3 separate regions of the Homo sapiens genome follow, and regions 2 and 3 are each linked to region 1. Evidence: promoter capture Hi-C in human tissues and cell types (Jung and others, 2019). All regions are on one chromosome and are shown on one strand. Each heading gives the region's core, a stretch centred on a gene start or on the middle of the fragment in contact. The rest is flanking DNA. Distances are from core to core; before and after follow the strand shown. Region 1 holds the start of WFDC6 (WAP four-disulfide core domain 6). Region 2 holds the start of DBNDD2 (dysbindin domain containing 2). Region 3 overlaps MATN4 (matrilin 4).

Region 1 (2,700 bases), core at 168-2,667:
CGCATTCCACTTTGATTTTGGGACACGGCTCTAAGGGAGGGGAAGATATATTCCCTCAAGGCCTTAAAGGAGCCAGTGCTCCCCCTCCCCGAGACCAGGGCACCCCTCCAGAGTTAGAGAACTTTGTTTCCACTTCACCTATCCCCAGAAGGTAGTGGCCCTCAGGGGGCTCAGGAATTTCACAACACTGCTCACATCCCCAACCCCATAACAACTCACCATCGGATGCCTAAACCAACCCCTACCCCCTACCCGCACCATCTATGAGATTCCTGAGAGAAAGACGCATTCCTCTAAGACTGTTCTGGTCACTCAGCCTTGCTGTGCTTGGTTGCTCCCCCAGGAGGTGCTGTGGCTCTCGATGATTGAGATTAACATTTCTGGCATCAGATAGCTGGGCTTTTGAATTCTGTGAGACGCTTGGTGTGCCAGGCACTCTCTCTGAGCCTTGATTTCCTCATTTGCCCATAGGGTTGCTTTGAAGACTAACCAGCAACACAGTTTGACAAGCCATCGTCAAACTGCCTGGGGCAATGTAACGTAACAATGAGTAATATGGATGAAGCACTTACTGTGAGCTGCCTTTTCTCCTTAATCCTCATTACAAATCTATGGGTAAGTACTCTTAATATTCACATTTTGTAAACAGAAGAATTGGAAGCATAAGGAGATTATGTGAATTTGCCCAAGATCACACAGCTACTCAGGGGTGGAGCCAGGTTTGAACCTACAATGTGTGGCTCCTGAGTGCTCACTTTCAACCACTAATTTTCAGTGCCCAGTACAGTTAGCTGCTAATTGTGAGTCTTCACATTTCAGCATTCCAAGGGACTTCTGGAGACCATTCTTTAACCCAAAGACCAGGGTCCTCTGTGGGTATGGGTGTGGGGGCTGCAATGAGAACATTTGGAAGTTGACACAGGTGGTGTTGTGGGGAGCAGCCTGTTTTTCTTGTGGGAGACTTCCTTGGGCTTACTACTCCTTCTTAGTTCATTTCATGAGCTCTAGGTCCAGGCACCTCCAGGAAGAACTCTTTGGAATGGCAGCAAGGAGTCACTTGCCACAGATTTGGATGCCTGTATTCACCAAGGGAGTCTCTTACCAAGAGACTTCAAATAGCTCCCCTCTTTCCCACCTGGAATTCCAGGCAGAGGTGGAGAAAATAATTTCTCAGCTGCAAAATTATTCTTTGTTCCTTCCTCCCCACTGAGTTTCCTTTCCCCATTGCAAGGACGGAGTTCCCAATACTTACTGCCAAGGATGCCTTCAGCGTGCCCAGGTTCCTGGATGTCCCCCAAAAGGATGAATGGTACCAGGATTGGCAGAAGTCCTGAGAGTCCCATTTTAGGAAGTACTGGCCTGGTTGATGGCACCAAAACTAAGAACTGCTCCTCAGCAGCTCCTACATCTGCACTTTGCCTGCCCCGGTGTGGCCCAGCACCTTAAGAGACAGCCCTGGAGACAAGCCAGCCAGACTCCCCGATCAGGAACACCAGATCCCTGAGGCCATCAGTGGGACTACCTGGTACCTACACTGGGGGATAGGTGGCTCCTAATCCTCAGCAATCTGAGGCTTTCTGGTCTACCAGGGAAAGAGGGCACATGTTGTCTTGGGCTTTCCAGGCTCCCTTAGCAGAAGGGGAGGTTTAACTCCAGAGTCTTCCATTTCCCAGGGGGAGTTTGCAGGTTAACAGTATGCTAGCTCTCTTCCTTCTTTCTAATTTCACTCTTCTCCTGACATGTCTATTCTTATGTTTTATTTTTCTCACTCTGTTTCTTCTCTTTTCTGTGCATCTGTATGTCTTTTACTCTGTGCCTGTCTTTTTCTCAGGGAGTCTCTGTCTGTCTGAGTCTCTTTCTCCCCGCCCTTCACTTCCCTCTCTCTTCTTTCGTATGTAAAGATCAGTTACATTTATCCTTTAAGTCGTTTGATTTTGCAACAGTAAATAACTTCTTTCATTACTTTGGGACTTCTCCAACTCTGTTCTCCGTTTTTCCCTGTTGTCACAGCTACAGCATTGGATTAAAAGTCACACCCTGAAGCATTAACGCTTGAGCATCTGTACCAAGTTTTATATCCTTGGTATAAGCCCGAAGGAGGTGAGGAGCCAGTTACCTGGGCATCAGTTCCATCTGGCAAAGGACTGTGGGTAATGGAAGCATTTCTGCAGGGTGGCAGCAGGGTGTGTGTGCAGCAAGGCATGTCATCAGTGGTGAGTGAGAAGTTCATTCCTTTTTATGGCCGAATAATAGCCAATGCACATTGACAGCCTCCTACCTCTAGCATCAGTCCCTAATTTTCTGCTGTGGGTTTTCTCTGGCCCCCAGGGAGCTTGTATAGCTTGCAAGTATAACAGTTTGAAAGAGCGAGGGATTTAGTATCCCTGGCATCCAGTGGGCGTTGGGAATCAGTGGACAAATAGCTTAGCTTTCCCATCACTGGAGACAGATTAAGAAAATTTGTGGTCTGATATCCAGAATCTACAAGGAACTTAAACAAATTTACAAGAAAAAAAACAAACAACCCCATTGAAAAGTGGGCAAAGGACATGAACAGACACTTCTCAAAAGAAGACATTTATGCGGCCAACAAACATATGAAAAAAAGCTCAACACCAGTGATCATCAGAGAAATGCAAATCAAAACCACAATGAGATACCATCTCATGCCAGTCAGAATGGTGATTATTAAAAAGTCCA
Region 2 (2,765 bases), core at 42-2,541, 130 kb before region 1:
GTCGCGTAAACAACTCCCTTTCTCCAGCTCTGGGCTCCGCGGCCCCCCGGGGGACAGCTCCTTCAGTCTCGTGAGATCGGTGGGGTTAGGGGGAGGGGAAAAGAGAGGGGGTGTCCCAGAGCCCCTGGCCCCCGTCAGCTCCCCCACCTTGGCCTCTCCCTCCCCCTCCTCGCTGCTGGAGCACAGGCTCCAGGGGCCCTGGGTATTTTTAGCGTTGTGACCTGGGCGGCAGCTCTAAGAGCCTTTCCCGGGAATCGGCGTCAGCGCCTCGCTCCTCCGCCGCCAGCCCGCGGCCGCACGGTCTCCCCAGACTTCCGTGGCCCTGCCTTGGCCAGTCGGGGTTGGGTCCCTCTCCACCTCTGTGGCGCCCGTGGAGCTGGCCAGGGTCTGGGATACGCTGGGTGCAGATGAGGTGGGGAAGGCAGTCTGCGGAGGATGACGTCTGATCCTCAAGCTAGAAACTCCCTTGCCTCTGGTGATGGGCTCAGAGCAGAACGCCGGGAAGGAGATGAGCGAATGGGAATGAATGCACCGACCTGGGCTGGCCCATAGCCTCAGTGCTCTGGCAGGGTCTCAGCTTCTCAGCCCTAGGGGTCAGGAGGCCTGCTCTGAACTGGACCCAGAACCCGCCTTTCCAATTGCTCCTCACTGACTAATGGGGAGATAAGTCAGTGAGATGTGTCCCAGGAGGGGGACGCATAAAGAGCTGTTGGAGTTCAAAGGAAAGATGGTAGTCTCCTAAATAGCTCACCTTCACAAGCAGGGTCTTGTATTTGAGGCAGGTAGGTTGGTTATGCCATTTTCAGATGGGGAGACTAAGACCAGAAAGGTGATTTCCTTAGGGGCAGAGCCTAGTCTGGAAGTCAGGCCTGTGACTTCAGAGCAAGGGTTTGGGGTAGATGGCACATGCGTGTGTACGTGTTTGTGTGGGTGGAGAGAAAAGGAGGGGCGCGGGAGGAGTTGCTTTAGCCTTTGTCTGGGTTTTGAAGGATGGGAAGGGGTGGGCTGCAGCACTGGAGGAAGGGAACCCTCCACCCTGAGATCTCTGTCTCTATCCTATCCTGTCCCTGGCCTTCTGAGGCAAGCGGGGCCAATTAAGGGGAAAACGTACCTCCTCCATTTGTGCTGAACCAATCCCTCCAACCCCTCTCAGGAGGGCATGATATGGAGAGTTGGGCATTGGCTGTGTTCCCTGAATACAGAGTATCTCTCTTGTGGTGCCTGGAACTGGCATCCCCTTTGTGGAGCTTAGGGCAAGCCCCGCCTCTGCATGAGACTTGGTTTGTGGGACACACTTGGTTTCAGGGAAGGGGAAAGAGGTCACCAAGGGCAGAGGTGTCCAGGCCGGAGCCAGGGGCCCCACTGTTGGGATGCTGGCTGCAGTGGGGCGCCCCAAGCCCAGGTCCCCTCTGTCTTCTCTTTCGACTTTGCAGCTGTACTTGTTTTGCTCCTCTACCCGCAGGAGCTGACATGGACCCAAATCCTCGGGCCGCCCTGGAGCGCCAGCAGCTCCGCCTTCGGGAGCGGCAAAAATTCTTCGAGGACATTTTACAGCCAGAGACAGAGTTTGTCTTTCCTCTGTCCCATCTGCATCTCGAGTCGCAGAGACGTAAGTCCCAAGTCCTGAGAAGAGGGACTGGGGTAGGGTAGGGAGGATGTCCTGTGGGTCCTGAATCTTGTGGCACTCTCTCCCCTCTGGTTTTCTTGGCCCTCTATGCTTCTAACTTGGGACCTGACATGTAACTCTCACTGTCCTGGTGTGCAGCTTGGGTCCTCCTGACTTGCCCACTTCTTGATCCGCAGCCCCCATAGGTAGTATCTCATCCATGGAAGTGAATGTGGACACACTGGAGCAAGTAGAACTTATTGACCTTGGGGACCCGGATGCAGCAGATGTGTTCTTGCCTTGCGAAGATCCTCCACCAACCCCCCAGTCGTCTGGTATGCCCCTCTGCTTTGGGGACTTCAGTGCCAGTCAGCCAGAGCCGGATGTCAGGCTCTGAAACGAGGCTACAAGGCTGGGCTGGGGAAGTACACAAGTAAGGGCTGGAAGTGGGTGTTTCTACCAATGAAACAGCTGCCTGTTCTGATTTTAGGGAAGTTGACCCTGAGGGAGAACTGGGTTACACATCTCTAATCCAAAATTCTGGGAACGGTCAATCTCTTCTTTAATTTTACATTTGTTATATTAATATAATTAGTCACTATAATTAAAATAATGTAAAATTGTAATTTTTATATTTGGCAACTTAAGTAGTTTTAGTCATTATAATGATATTAATATGTATTGAGTACTTTAGTAGGTTCCAATACTGTACTAAAGTACTTTACATATATTATCTCAATCCTTACAACGTCCTGTCAGGGTAGGTGATATAATCTCTATTTTATAAGCAGGAAATTAGGCTCAGAGAAGTTAAGTCACATTGTAGCCAGAAGGTAGATAAACTGGAATTCATGTCTGTCTGACTCCAAAGCCCATATGCTTAACTTGTAAGATAGATATTCTTTTAATTAAAACTGCTACTATTTATTGATGGCTTACTATGCCAGACATTTTATAAGCATTCTTAGGTTTTATTCCCAAAACCCTTTGGGGATGTAGGTATCCCTTTTATTTTGCAGAGGAGGAACAGAGTCCTTGAAAGGGAAAGTGACTTGCTCAAAGCCACTCAGCAGCAATAAGTGATGTAGGTGGAACTTGAACTCTTGCCATTCATTGACCTGACTGTAGATCCCAGACATGGTGTAATGACGTGGAAGGA
Region 3 (2,700 bases), core at 121-2,620, 240 kb before region 1:
GGTTAGGAGTTCGAGACCAGCCTGGCTGAGATGGCAAAACCCCATCTCCACTAAAAATACAAAAATTAGCCAAGCATGGTGGGGCACACCTGTAGTCTCAGCTACTCCAGAGGCTGTAACAGGAGAATCAGTTGAGCCCCAGAGGCAGAGGTTGCAGTGAGCCGACATCGCGCCACTGCACTCCAGCCCGAGAAACAGAGGGAGACTTAGTCTCAAAAAAAAAAAAAAAAAAAAAAGTCGAAGAGGGCTTGCTTCCTGTCTTCACCATGTGAGGACACAGCAAGAAAATTGGTGTGTGTGGGTGTGTGTGTGTAGGGGTGTGTGTGTGTGTGTGTGTGTTGGCGTGGGGAGGCTTTGAAAGGTGTGCCATCTAAGAATCAGAAAACAGGCCTTCTTTAGACACCATATCTGCTGGCACCTTGGTCTTGGACTCCTCAGCCTCCAGAATTGTGAAAACTAAATGTCTAGTCTACAGTACTTTGATATAGCAGCCTGAATGATCTAAGACAGTCTTGAAAGATCAGTAGGAGTTTGCCAAGGCAGTAAGGGACAGTCTAGAAGGTGAGATGCAGCACGTGCAGAGGCTTGGGATCTGGGGAGATCCTGACACATCCGGGGAGGGGCAGGCCAGTAAGACTGAAATGTTCAAGTGTGGCAGGAGATGGGCAGATGGAGTTGGCTGAAGCTAGATCGTGATGACCTAAGGCAGTGGTTTCAAAATTTTTATCACAGCCCACAGTAAAAATAATAATAATGACAATACATCATGAGACATTTCACACAGAACTAAAATTTCAGAAATAATATAACTCTTTCTACAGGCAGTAAACTCTATATTGTCTTCCACTCTTTTTTTTTTAATGTTGGTTGTAACCCAGTAATTTGATTTCATTATTCATTAATGTGGTTCTGCTCACCATTTGAAATACTTAGGGGTAAGTCATTTGATCTTTCTCCTGTAGTCATTGGTGAGCCACAGAAGGCTTGTGCACAAAGGAGGAATGTGATCAAATATGTATTTTTAAATTAACATTGACAGCAGAGTAGAGGATTGTAGGAAAGAGATGGAAGGAGGGAATGGCACACCCTCCAATGTCACCCCCACAACACACACAGACATTCACACCACAGCCTAGGGGCCACAGCAATGGCAAAGTCAAGGACACTCCAAATGTGGGCAATGGGGCAGAAGCCAACAGAACACCCTCCCGCCCATCACTCACGGTTGCAGCTCTTGCCATCTGCCTGAAGTTGCCGCCCCTCGGGGCACAGGCAGCGGTAGGAGAGGCCCTCGCTCACACACTGGAACTCACAGCCATGGTCCACGCCATTGCAAAGGTCCCGGACTGAAAGGAGAGACAGGTCAGGATGAGTCAGGATGGACCCCACCAGCTAAGATCTCTTACCCCTCCCACAAATGTAGGAGAGCCCTCCTCACCCTGACAGCTCCTCCCATCAGGCTGCAAGTCATGGCCCTCTCTGCAGTGGCACCGTGGCCCACCAGGGGTGCTAACACACTCATGCTGACAGCTATGGTTCCCAAAGCTGCAGTAGTCAATGGCTGGCAGGAGGGAAGAAACAGCAAGATGTTGCCTCTGATTGGAGCCCTCGGAGGCCACAGTCCAGGGTGTGGTGGGAGGGTGGGGGTGTTGCTCACCCCTGCAGCTCCTCTGGTCCTGCTGGAGTACAAAGCCAACTTGGCAGTGACAGAAATAGGAGCCTGGGGAATTGACGCAGTGGTGCTCACATCCATGGGTCCCTTCAGCACACAGATCAATGGCTGAGGAAGAAATGGGGTCAGTCTATGCCCAGGACTGCCCTTCTCAGCTCTGGTAGCACAACCACCTAAGGAAATTTTAAAGAATACCTACGCCTGGGCCCCAACCCCAAAAATCCTGACCTAATTAGTCAGGGCCCCTGTCCTCAAGATGCTCTCTGACTTACAGAGGACAGGTTTGGCCACTTTACCTATTTGAGCCTCCATTTTTCTATTTGCAAAATGGGAATATAATGGAAGACAGTGATTGCTATTCACAGCTTCCTTCCATGGAAGATGGGGAACTATTGCCCTGTTGAGCATCTTGATGATCTGGATAGGCAAAGATGGCCGAGAGCTGGACTGGAGAGAAGATAATTACCCTGTATAAAAAAGTGAGTATTTGGGGTTCCTGGAAAGGAGATGAGAGTGGAGAGAGGAAAGAAAAAAAAAAAAAAGAACAAGAGAGCCAGTATGAAGATGAGTAACTCTGTGGGTTGAGGCTGCCTGTGAAAAATCCCTTGTACTAGGCTGACTGAGGACTTTCAGAAACAAAGCTGTCTAATATTCAATTATAATGAGTTTTTCGTGTGTGTGTGCACGCGCTATGAGTTACTTAGCACATACACGCTTGTGTATGCCCCTGCATACACAAGTGTGTAAACCAACGAAGAGGTTGATTAACATGCATGGAACAAGAACAGCATGTGCAGGGTTGAGAAATGAGAGAGGATCCATAAATCAAATGAATTTAGCAGAGGCTCACAGCAAGAGGTGACAACCAGAAGATAAGCACTTGGGGGATTTCCAGAGGTCTTGGAGAGAGATTTGAATGTTAAACAGTCATCAAATCAGAGTTCAAGCCAACTTTTAGTTTCTAGAAACAAGAAGACCCCAGCTGACATCTGGGTTATTGGGATTACATGATTTCTTTTTCCAGGTTG

What was found. The method cuts DNA at HindIII sites, captures the fragments that hold promoters and counts their contacts. A contact is called where the count stands out against the background at its distance.
Region 2: the fragment with the promoter of DBNDD2 here is called in contact with the fragment with the promoter of WFDC6 in region 1 in 2 of the 25 tissues and cell types used here (heart left ventricle and mesendoderm cells).
Region 3: a fragment that was not itself captured here is called in contact with the fragment with the promoter of WFDC6 in region 1 in 1 of the 25 tissues and cell types used here (hippocampus).

What each region holds. Positions count from the first base shown.
Region 1 is chr20:45,538,065-45,540,764 of GRCh38, forward strand. WFDC6 (WAP four-disulfide core domain 6) reads right to left here and starts at 1,418. Exons shown (of 3, transcript NM_080827.2): 1 at 1,253-1,418; 2 at 1-30. The coding sequence starts at 1,343. EPPIN-WFDC6 (EPPIN-WFDC6 readthrough) reads right to left here. Exons shown (of 5, transcript NM_001198986.2): 4 at 1-30. EPPIN (epididymal peptidase inhibitor) reads right to left here. Exons shown (of 4, transcript NM_020398.4): 4 at 2,562-2,700. LOC107987282 (a long non-coding RNA gene) reads left to right here. Exons shown (of 4, transcript XR_001754641.3): 3 at 472-615; 4 at 2,011-2,323. It also overlaps the pseudogene HSPD1P21. The HindIII fragment of the contact is 28,992 bases long and covers 1-2,700 here.
Region 2 is chr20:45,406,998-45,409,762 of GRCh38, forward strand. It overlaps DBNDD2 (dysbindin domain containing 2), which reads left to right and starts at 1,292. Exons shown (of 3, transcript NM_001048225.4): 1 at 1,292-1,609; 2 at 1,804-1,941. The coding sequence starts at 1,471. It overlaps SYS1-DBNDD2 (SYS1-DBNDD2 readthrough (NMD candidate)), which reads left to right. Exons shown (of 6, transcript NR_003189.2): 4 at 1,463-1,609; 5 at 1,804-1,941. It overlaps LOC107985404 (a long non-coding RNA gene), which reads right to left and starts at 892. Exons shown (of 5, transcript XR_007067608.1): 1 at 752-892. RefSeq lists an enhancer at 1-429. The HindIII fragment of the contact is 23,713 bases long and covers 1-2,765 here.
Region 3 is chr20:45,299,664-45,302,363 of GRCh38, forward strand. MATN4 (matrilin 4) reads right to left here. Exons shown (of 10, transcript NM_001393530.1): 4 at 1,658-1,780; 5 at 1,439-1,561; 6 at 1,224-1,346. Among named protein-coding and RNA genes, the nearest start is that of RBPJL, 5.8 kb to the right of the region's middle. The HindIII fragment of the contact is 4,441 bases long and covers 1-2,700 here.